Linked DNA regions of Homo sapiens: region 1 is linked to region 2. Evidence: promoter capture Hi-C in human tissues and cell types (Jung and others, 2019). All regions are on one chromosome and are shown on one strand. The core of a region is centred on a gene start or on the middle of the fragment in contact, and the rest is flanking DNA. Distances in the headings are between cores, read along the strand shown. Region 1 overlaps SRRM4 (serine/arginine repetitive matrix 4). Region 2 holds the start of SRRM4 (serine/arginine repetitive matrix 4).

Region 1 (5,006 bases), core at 737-3,236, 110 kb after region 2:
GAGAGGCTTATGTTTGGATCATCTTGAAACAACCCTCCTCAGGAGTAAAATGATGCTTAGCAGATGAATGAGTGAATGAATAGCTGAGGAATGACTGGATGAATAAACGCACAAACAATAAATGAATCACTGTGTCTAAATGAATAACTTGGAGCTGTCAGTCACTTTATATTTTAAAAGCCAGTCCACCAGGCTGGGGCACTTCTATTGAGCCATCTTCTTATTTAAAACCCCACTGGTAGAATGCCACTGGAGCTTACCTCCCTCCTCAACTTTCACCCTTAATCTAGTTAGTTACTAGCCTGGTGTTCGTTCCATCTTACTCCCAGAAGATCCAGTCTCCTGGCTTTAAACACTGTCCAAATGCTATCATCTCTCAAACGCATTTCCCTAGCTCTGATCTCTTCTCTGAACTCCAGGCTCATGTACCCACTTGCCCACTTGCCATCTCAACATAGATGTCTAACTGACATCTCAAAATCTAACTGGCATCTCAAAAACTGAGCTTTAGAAGACTCTTCCAAAACATGCTTCCCCATCTCAGTTGTTCCAGCTCAGTGATTGGCAGCAAGAGCCTCCCAGTTGCTCAGACCTAAAACCTTGGAGTCATCCTTGGCCCCTCTCTTTCACACTCCATAGCCAATCCATGCAAAAACTCTGTTGATTCTACCTTCAATAAAAGTCCATAATCTGGCCACCTCTCATCACTACTGCAGAAAAAACACTGACCCCAGCCACCGTCTTCTTCATATGGATTATTGTAGTCATTTCTTCACTGGTCTTCCGTATCTATTCCAGATCCCTGGCCATATAGGCTCAGCAAGATGCCAGAGGGATCCTTTAAAACCTAAGTCAGAACATATCTATCCAATGAAGCCTCCAATGGCATCTCATCTCACCGAGAGGAAAGAGCCAAGTCCCTGTGAAAGCCCACCAGATTCTTATACCTGATCCCTCATTACCTCTCTGACTTTACCTCCTACTAATCTCCCCTTTGCTCCCTCAGCTCCAGCCACACTGCTAATTCTTCACTGCATTCCATATGTTCCTGCCTCAGGGCCTTTGCACTGGCTCCACTCTGCCTGTTATGTTCTCCTGGGCATGCTCAAGGCTCACTCCCTCATCACTTTCAAGTCTTTGCTCAAATCTCACCTTCTCAATGAGGGCTTCTCTGATTACCCAGTTTAAAATTGCAAGCCCCTCGCAGTAGTATTCCATCTCCCCCCTAGCACTTATTACCTTCTAATATTTACCACTTAATTATGTTTATTTTCTGCTCTCTTCCTACCTCCACCCATTGCAGTACAATGTGAGCTCCACCAAGCAAGGTTTTTTTCTCTATCTTGTTCCCAGTGCCTGCACATAATAGATGCTCAATAAATATTTGTTGAATGAAGAATAAGTGAACGGTCCTTGGAAGCACCTCTTGGGAGCAGTTTACACTCTCCTAGATCTTGTACCAAGGATCCTCCTTTCCTGGGTTGGGGGTTTCCTCTTAAGCTTAGGGCTTCTTTCCACTTCCCAGTTCCCTCTTGTTTGCTTAGTCTTTCTTCTAATAGTGGCTGTGATGGTCCCCAAAAGGGACTCACTTGTCCTGTCCCTCCCATGGCAAGAAAACATAATTAGCAACTCGCCCTCCCCGGAGAAATCCTAACTGTGTCTGCAATTCCAGCTGATCCCCAGGGGACCCTGGGCTGGAAGGAGAGATGATATTCTTGCCCATGGTGACACAACTTAGCAGAATCAGGACTTGAACCCAGGTCAGCAGGACTCCAGGTCCCATGCATTTTTCCCAGCATCACCTAATTACCTTTTGAACACCCTGCTCAAGTGGAAAACTATGACATTTTGGAATTCAGTCCCTTCCCTAGTTGGAGGCAGCCTGCATTTTAGGCAGTCTCAACAATCGAATCCAATCCACTTCTCAGCAGTTTTATCTCTCATGAAGCAAATAGGCAATTGATAGGCCAGCCTGTGGAGGGAGAAATGACTGGGTGGATGTGGGGTTGATTGGAGGGCAGTGGATGGATGTGTTCTGTGATGAGTTCAAAACCCGGTCAGGTTGGGTGCCTGACCTGCTTGGCTGAGTTGGGCAAGAAATGCTGAGCTGATTTTTCTCCACATGATTCTTTTGTCCTTTGACCTGAACTTGAGAACCAAGCAATTATTGATATATAAGAGTGTTTACCACACACTCATAAGCACACACACTCACACACATCCACACTCTTACACACTTGCTCTCAGCCCTGACAACTGGACTAAGCCATTCTCATCCATCGCCTGTGGAGAGGGAGTGGTGGGGAGCTGTGCTTGTCTATGTTGCTCATCCCTCAGGATCAAGTTCAAACTCCTTGTAGAATCTACAACATGGCTACTCAGAGTGTAGTTCCTGGAGCAACAGCCTCACCTGGGAATTGGTTAGAAATGCAGAAACTCAGGCCCTCCCCCAGACCTACTGAAGAATCAGCATCTGCAGTCTGACAAGATCCCCAGGTGACCCATGCACATGAAGGCTTGAAAAGCACCTGTCTACATGGCCCTGAAGAATCCAGCCCCTTTCTTCCTTCCTAGACTCAAGTCTTGCCTGCCACCCTCCACCTTCACTGTCTGTTCTAACTTACTGCATCCCCTGCAGTCACACGAAGGTCCACTGCTTTGTCTTGGTGCTGGACCTTTGCACTTGCTCTTCCTCCTTTTTGTTCCACTTTCCTGACCAATTTCTATTCATCTGCTAGAAACACATTCCGTGACCACCTGCCCACATTCCCCAGGAGGGGTTAGGTGCCCTCTCTGTGGGTCCACTGCCCCCGTAAGCCTCTCTCTATCAGAGAACTTCTTATATACCATATTGCAATTCCCGGTTTAGGGATCTGTCTCCCCTTCCAGGGTGAGAAGTCCTGCAGGGCAGAAACAATGTCTTGGTTACTTTTGGGTCTTTGAAATCTGATACTAAGTAGGTGTTCAGTAAACAACTGTTGAGTAATGAATGAAATAATGAGAGAAATGACAGCCTCATAAAACTTCCTTTCATTTTTTATTCAATTTCTACTAAAATGAACATTACTGCCCCTATATCCAAACGATGTCTCCCACAGCAGTGCTGTGCAATCCCCAGTTTTCCTCTAAGCTCTATTGCTTTTTCAAGCCACAATGGCAAAGCTCAAAGGGTCACAGCTCCTGAAGATTACCCCCATCCAGGCTTAATGAACTGGATTCACCTTGAAAACGAGTCGGAATGCCAAGACCTCAGGCCAGGACATTATTAACACAGCCCAGACTGAGGTCCCAGGAGCCAAGGCACAAATTGGCCAACTTCATCTTGTCTCTGGGCTAGGTCAGCCCCATGATAACTCTTGGGCTTTCTGAAGAGCATTTAAGCATGAGAGTCTAGGCCTACATTCTCTATTGAAACAGGCAGAGTGTGGGTGTCTGGCAAGTGTGGGAAAAAGGATGGACCTTTCACAGCCCTGGATGCACGGGTAGAACAAGTACCTGGGCCATGATCTCTGGAAGGAAGCAAGTACTTTTGCCTCTCCAGGTTTCAGTGCCTTCAGCTATGCAAGGGAAGGAGGTTCACCATGCTGCTGCTGCACACCCCACAGAGAGTTATAGGAATCAATTGAGACACTGGATTAGTAAGTCCTCTATACACAGAAGGAGCTATTTGTGGAATGGAGGCAATAAATGTCAGCGATGTCTCCAATCTCCTGGCCAACTGCCATTTCTGTTTGTGGAATATAAGATTCAGGCCAAACCTTGAGATACAGAGCCTCTCCAAACACATAAGACCAGTCCTATCTTACAACGTAATTACCAAGATTCCCCCTGTACCTCCACTTATCCTTTCCTATATTTTCAAAATGTTTTCTACTAAAAATACAGAAATTAGCCAAGCGTGGTGGCAGGTGCCTGTAATCCCAGCTACTCAGGAAGCTGAAGCAGGAGAATCACTTGAACCCGGGAGGCGGATGTTGCAGTGAGCCGAGATCATGCCACTGCACTCCAGCCTGGGCGATAGATTGAGCCTCAGTCTCAAAAAAAAAAAAAAAAAAAGAAAATGTTTTCCAGAGTCTTCTCCCTTTTGTTCTCAGTTGATTTTTATTTATTTATTTTTTTATGGAGTCTTGCTCTGTGGCGCAGGCTGGAGTGCAGTGGCGCGATCTCAGCTCACTGCAAGCTCTGCCTTCCAGGTTCATGCCATTCTCCTGCCTCAGCCTCCTGAGTAGCTGGGAGTACAGGTGCCCGCCACCACGCCCAGCTAATTTTTTTTTTTTTTTTTTGTATTTTTAGCAGTGACGGGGTTTCACTGTGTTAGCCAGGATGGTCTCAATCTTCCTGACCTCGTAATCCGCCCACCTCAGCCTCCCAAAATGCTGGGATTACAGGTGTGAGCCACCACGCCCGGCCTCTCAGTTGATTCTTATAAACAAGCAGGACAGCTGCTGATGTTCTTGCCAGTTAATATCTCAGGGTCTCAGTTTGTTCTTCACAGTAGGGATGGTAATGCTGGCTCATGGGTTTCTTTGAAAACTTCAATGAGAAGATGAGTGAGAAGTGCTTAGTTAGCTCAGTGTCTGGTGTGCAGGAGGTGCTTGATAAATACTAGCTGCTGTGATGATCAAGTGATGTGGAGAGAACGCTGGGCTGGGAGTCAAAAGGTGGCAACTCTACTAGCCAGAGCTATGATATGAGTCACTATTTGCCTTGGGCAAGTCCCCTTGCCTCTTGGGCCTCCCTTTCTCCACTCTGTACAGGGCTGAGCTGGATCTGGGGTTCTTCCCGCTCCACCATTGTTGGTCTCTGATTCCCCAAACAGTGTTTAACTCAATCTAGTGCTTGGGGCATGAGGATCTGCACCCAATGCTGGGCCAAATGAGAACTTTGTTGGGAGCAGCTGGCTGATTGGCTCAGTGAGCAAGAGCTTTGATGGGAAGCAGGGAAGCAGCTAGGGAGCCAGGCCTCTTGAGGAGTTTTGCAGAAAAGTTCAGCCCTGACTCTTATCG
Region 2 (4,799 bases), core at 788-3,287:
GCTACGATGGGATTTTAAAAAGGCAATGTTTTGCATATGGGAGCTCTATCAACATTTTAGGGATTAGGAGCAGGCACACAACTGGAAGATGTTGACTGATCTTGTGGGGGTAGGATCCCACCTACCTCTCTCCTGCAAGTGACTCAGTTCATACCCTAAATGTCATGACTAAGGTTAGTTTTAAAGATGCCAGTCTGCTACCTATAAGAAGCCAGCTCTAGATTGCATTTACAATGATACCAACTTCTGGGTGGGAAACGGGGGTCTAGCCCAATCAGGGAATGGGGGATTTGGGGCGCAAGGTAAGAGGGAGAGGAAGGGAAGGGGTTAGCCTAGTCTCCACTTTGCTCCATCTCCAACCTTCCCAGGCCTGACCCCCACCTCTGGGCCCTCTCCCCCGGCAACCCACATAAGAAGCCAGCAAATGCACCTCTCGTTGTTGACCAGAAGGGGTCACTGCAGAGCAAGTAGCGCTCTCAGGCACTCAAATAAGCGGACGCAGGCGTGTCGAACACACACACTTCAAACGTAGATACCCTTTGGGGCGGGTACTCATTTACTCCAAGGTTCTTTCTTCTCCTGCCCCATCTTATCCTCTCTGTTGGCCTCTTCATCTTCACCTCCTAGTTACCTCCTGTTCCCCTTCAGAGAATTTCTGGAGTTCCCATTGTTCTCCCGACCCCCCCGCCCTACCCCGCCCTCATTGGGTCCCCATTGCTATCTGCTTTAGCAAAGAGCAGGAGTTTATTCTCGCTGTGACTGGGACTCAGCACCAGGTGCTTGGAGGCATTTAAGACTGAGCGAGGCCTCCTTCCAGGAATTTACAGCCTGGAAAGTGGAAGCGGGGTTGGGGGGAGGGGGAGGGCGTTAGGTGGGAGATGGGGGAGTAACAACTCTGCTAAGATTAAAAGGCTTCCAGGAAGGCAAGGGCTGAGGGGTCCCGCCACGATCTCTTTTTTTTATAATGAAAACCCTGGGGGAAAACAAGAGTCATTCTAACCAGATCTTCTGTGTCTGGGGTTGATTTGGGATTCTAAACCTCCACTTGCTTGGGATTACGATTGAACTGCGAGGCGGTAAGGAGATGGGGAGGAGAGACCGAAAAGTAACTATCCCCCTGCTAATCCTCGAGATTTTCCTCTCCAACCCTCCCACTAAGCGCTTTCTTTTCCAAAACGTACTCCTTTCCCGAGACTAGCGGCATTAGGAAAAGTGGCTGCAGGCGGATTCCCCAGGAGTGGATGGGGGTGGGGTGGGGTGAGATGGGAACTCTTTCCTCTGGACGGGGTTGGCGGCGGGGACGCTGGGCAGGCCGGCTGTGAGACACAAAAGAGATACCCTTGACAGCTCCGCATGCACAGATGTAACGCTGCGCCCCTTGGCGGGCGGGGGCCCTGCTCGGCAGATGGCGAGAAGCCGAATTGGTGAGGGATTGTCTATCAAATGGCACTTTCTGGGTGGTGGAGACCTCGCTAACCCCCGGCGCAAAGAGGAACGCAGGGCACCCTCTGTACCGGCCTAGGCCGTGTCTCCCAAAAGTGAGGGTCTGGGGGAGGCCGGCTGGGGTGGATAGATTAAGTTTTTTACGAGCCCCCCCAACCCCCCCCCCCCCCCCACGCAGAAGATCAGCTACAAGACTTGCGAAGGGGCTGGAAAGAAAGGTGGCCTGGCCCAAAGGGGGCACCCAGGAAAGGGCTGAGGAAGGCCAGCGATGATGGGAGAGGAGAGGGGCCTGGGAAGCAGGATCTCCTGCCTGGCGCAGATTGGGGTGCCAGGATGGCTTCTCAGAGGGATCAGCGCTGCAACTCGGTCGCCGCGGGGCCCTGGTGACAGGCGCACGCCCCGCCCTTTCTCCTCCCAAGACCTGCGGGCTTTTGTTATGCAGATGGCGGCAGGAGGCTGAGCCTGAGGAGGAGGGGGTTGGTGGGGAGGAGGAGAGACGGAGAGGGGGGAGGAAAGTGCAGCTCGCGCGACCAGCCTCCTCTTCCAACGTCACATTGTGCGAGAGACAAAACCCGGGCGCGCCGGAGCTCACACGCGCACGCACACACATCCGACCCCGTCGCCTCTTCTCTCCTGGTGCTGCCCAGAAAGCCAGCCCTCCCTTCCCTTCTTGGGGCGCAGAGGCTCAGCCAGCTCAGAGCGCAGCCTGGAGCCGACCCAGAAGGGCGAAGAAAGCCCAGCGGACGAGCCTCCTTTCTCTGCTGCCTGCCCGGGCTGGGGCGTCCCATCCCCCGCCCTGAACTCCGATCTCTCCCACCCCACCCCTCTCTGGGTTTCACCCGGACAGAGCCGGGAGCTGGGTGTCGCCCCCGTTTGGAATCCACGTTTCAGCACTTTGGACAGCGCCCCGGACGCCCCGGCCCCTTTGGGTTGGCGATGGCGAGCGTTCAGCAAGGCGAGAAGCAGCTTTTTGAGAAGTTCTGGCGAGGAACCTTCAAAGCGGTGGCCACCCCCCGTCCCGAGAGCATCATTGTCGCCAGTATCACGGCCCGCAAGCCGCTGCCAAGGTAATGATCTCCTTCTTAGAAGGGGGGATCCTGAAGGTCCTCCTTTCTGGCCTGTGCCCCAGAGCCCGGAGGGGTGGATGCAGGCAGCCGGGCCAGGGCGCCTGTCTTTTCCCGTCACTACTCGGCGGCTCCCGCTGAAACATGGGAACTCATTGCTTGTGTGAGGTGGAAGATGGTGAGAAGGGACAGGAATTCTTTGGGGGAAAGCAACGCTTATTGGACCCCCGTAGCTCCTATTCAAGAGGTTTTGCTACCTGAGGGTGGGCGGTGCAGATGGGGTACGACTTGACTGAAAAACTTTTCTTGGTGTCACAGAGTCCAGAGGGCAGGTGGGCCAAGGAATGGTGGATTTGAGATGTTTGGGGGGTGTTGTACCAGAAAAGGAGAACTGAGCCAGCTCAAGCAGCGTTCAGAGATAGCACACATTTCCATCCTCGGCTCGGAAACTAGCGAGCTTTGAACATTTTTGACAAAAGCCCATATGCTGTTCCCTCAAATACACCCAAAACAGCACCCTCCTCCACGCCTTTCTGGCGGCTGCTGCCGCTGCTGCTGAATTCTCTCCTCTCCAGCATCCAAAACCAAGACTCTGAGCTCAGGAGTCAGGGAGGAGCCTTCCAAGATCGTGAAGATGATCTTGGAAGAGTTTTATTTTGTTTTTTTTTGTTTTTTTTTTTTTTTTCCAAAAAGAATCTGATTGCTTTGAACTCAGGGATGAGAACCGATCCTTGGATGGTGGTAGACATGGTGCTGATGGAAGGAAGAATAAGGGAAGAAATGAAAGAAACAGGGGAACAGGAGGTGGGGTGAGAGGGAGAGGAGGTTGGGGGAAAATGGAAGCATTCCAAGACAGAGAAAAATCCAATTCTTTTCATAAATCATTCAATTTAGAGGAGTTTAAGAATGAAGGGAAGAAGGCTGTGCTCTCTGTCAGGGAAAATCAAGGTAGTATGAAAACTCATCTTTTGCTGGTGTTGGATGAGTGGTTTAGTAGGAGAAAAGAAAGAAGTGGACCAGGGGGACCACTTGGAGGATTTATTAATCCTGGCAGTCTGCATTAGGGAGCAGATTGAAAACATGTCTGCAAAAGTGCTTAGGACAGACTGAACGTCTGTTCTGGCACAACTGATTCTGAACTTTCCAGTGAGTGTGAGGTGGAAGACGTATGGGAAATTATGTCTGAAGAATCAAAGCCAGATTGGAGAAGTTTTCCTCTTCACTGTCTTATTGAGGATCATACAGGTCTTTAGAGAAATAGGTGTCCCATTTAGGAATGGGTGGCCAAGCATCACAACAGGCCAGTAGGGTGTAGCAGGCTTCAAGCTAAAGCAGCACCAGCCAGTGTTTGCAGACGGGAAGGAGGGGACACCCACCCACCCACTGACACAGGCTGGAGAAGGGGAACAATAATACCAAATGCCATTAAAGGCTGATGCTTCTCTGCTCCGAAGGAGGTTCTGTGTATAGAGTTTTGACGTCAGTGGTTTTTATCTTCCTGGGTTTCTGCTATCTATTCCACCTTTGGAACGTACCTACTGTTGGCTAATCAGGTGCTGCACTGGCCAAAGAAAATGCCCTTGTAGAAGGAACTAGAGGAAATTTCACAGGAAACTAGAAGTATGGCATTTAGTCCAGAGTCTTCCATCTATTTTAGGGGTGCAGGGAGAGGAAAGCGGATTCTTGGTGGTGTTTTGATTCAGGAAAGCACACCTATTATCTGCCTTGCTTGGTACTTTCCACTTTTGTCTGTCTCTCTGTTACTGTCCTGCCCTTTTCTTGGTCATATTTGCAATCACATGAATGGCCCACAAGGTCTTTCAACCCTCATCCTTTCTGCAGCTTTTTGCTAATTCTAATGTAATCCTGAGACTTTTATAATACTCCACTCCCCCTCTGCAACCAGTATCATTTCACTCTTGGTGCCTTTTAATGTCGTGGGTCTCCTTTGCCCTAGAAACCACCCCTGAGGTGAAAGCCTGAACCATAAGCCCTGGATTTATGTCACGCTAGGAGAATCCTGTGTAATACTTCTGTAATAGGCGTGGCCTCTCTGTAGAACAGATTCCGGTTTTATAACTGTTACTCCTGGTTTGGGGTAGAGAGTGAGAAGGGAACATTTGTTTCCAAGTCCTCAGGAAAGGTTGGATTGGAGTTGTCTTTTAACAGACTGGATAAAACCTGAATCATCCCCATTCTCACCCAAGCCAGCCACATCCAGTGACATTCAATTTCCACTTCCTTTTCAACATTCTACACTTACTTAAGGGTGAAAGTACCATGTTTCCAAAG

Evidence for each region. The method cuts DNA at HindIII sites, captures the fragments that hold promoters and counts their contacts. A contact is called where the count stands out against the background at its distance.
Region 1: a fragment that was not itself captured here is called in contact with the fragment with the promoter of SRRM4 in region 2 in 2 of the 25 tissues and cell types used here (aorta and thymus).

What each region holds. Positions count from the first base shown.
Region 1 is chr12:119,091,923-119,096,928 of GRCh38, forward strand. The region is part of intron 1 of SRRM4 (serine/arginine repetitive matrix 4); the gene reads left to right. Among named protein-coding and RNA genes, the nearest start is that of SRRM4-AS1, 42 kb to the left of the region's middle. The HindIII fragment of the contact is 4,289 bases long and covers 1-4,131 here.
Region 2 is chr12:118,979,504-118,984,302 of GRCh38, forward strand. It overlaps SRRM4 (serine/arginine repetitive matrix 4), which reads left to right and starts at 2,038. Exons shown (of 13, transcript NM_194286.4): 1 at 2,038-2,510. The coding sequence starts at 2,380. The HindIII fragment of the contact is 17,491 bases long and covers 1-4,799 here.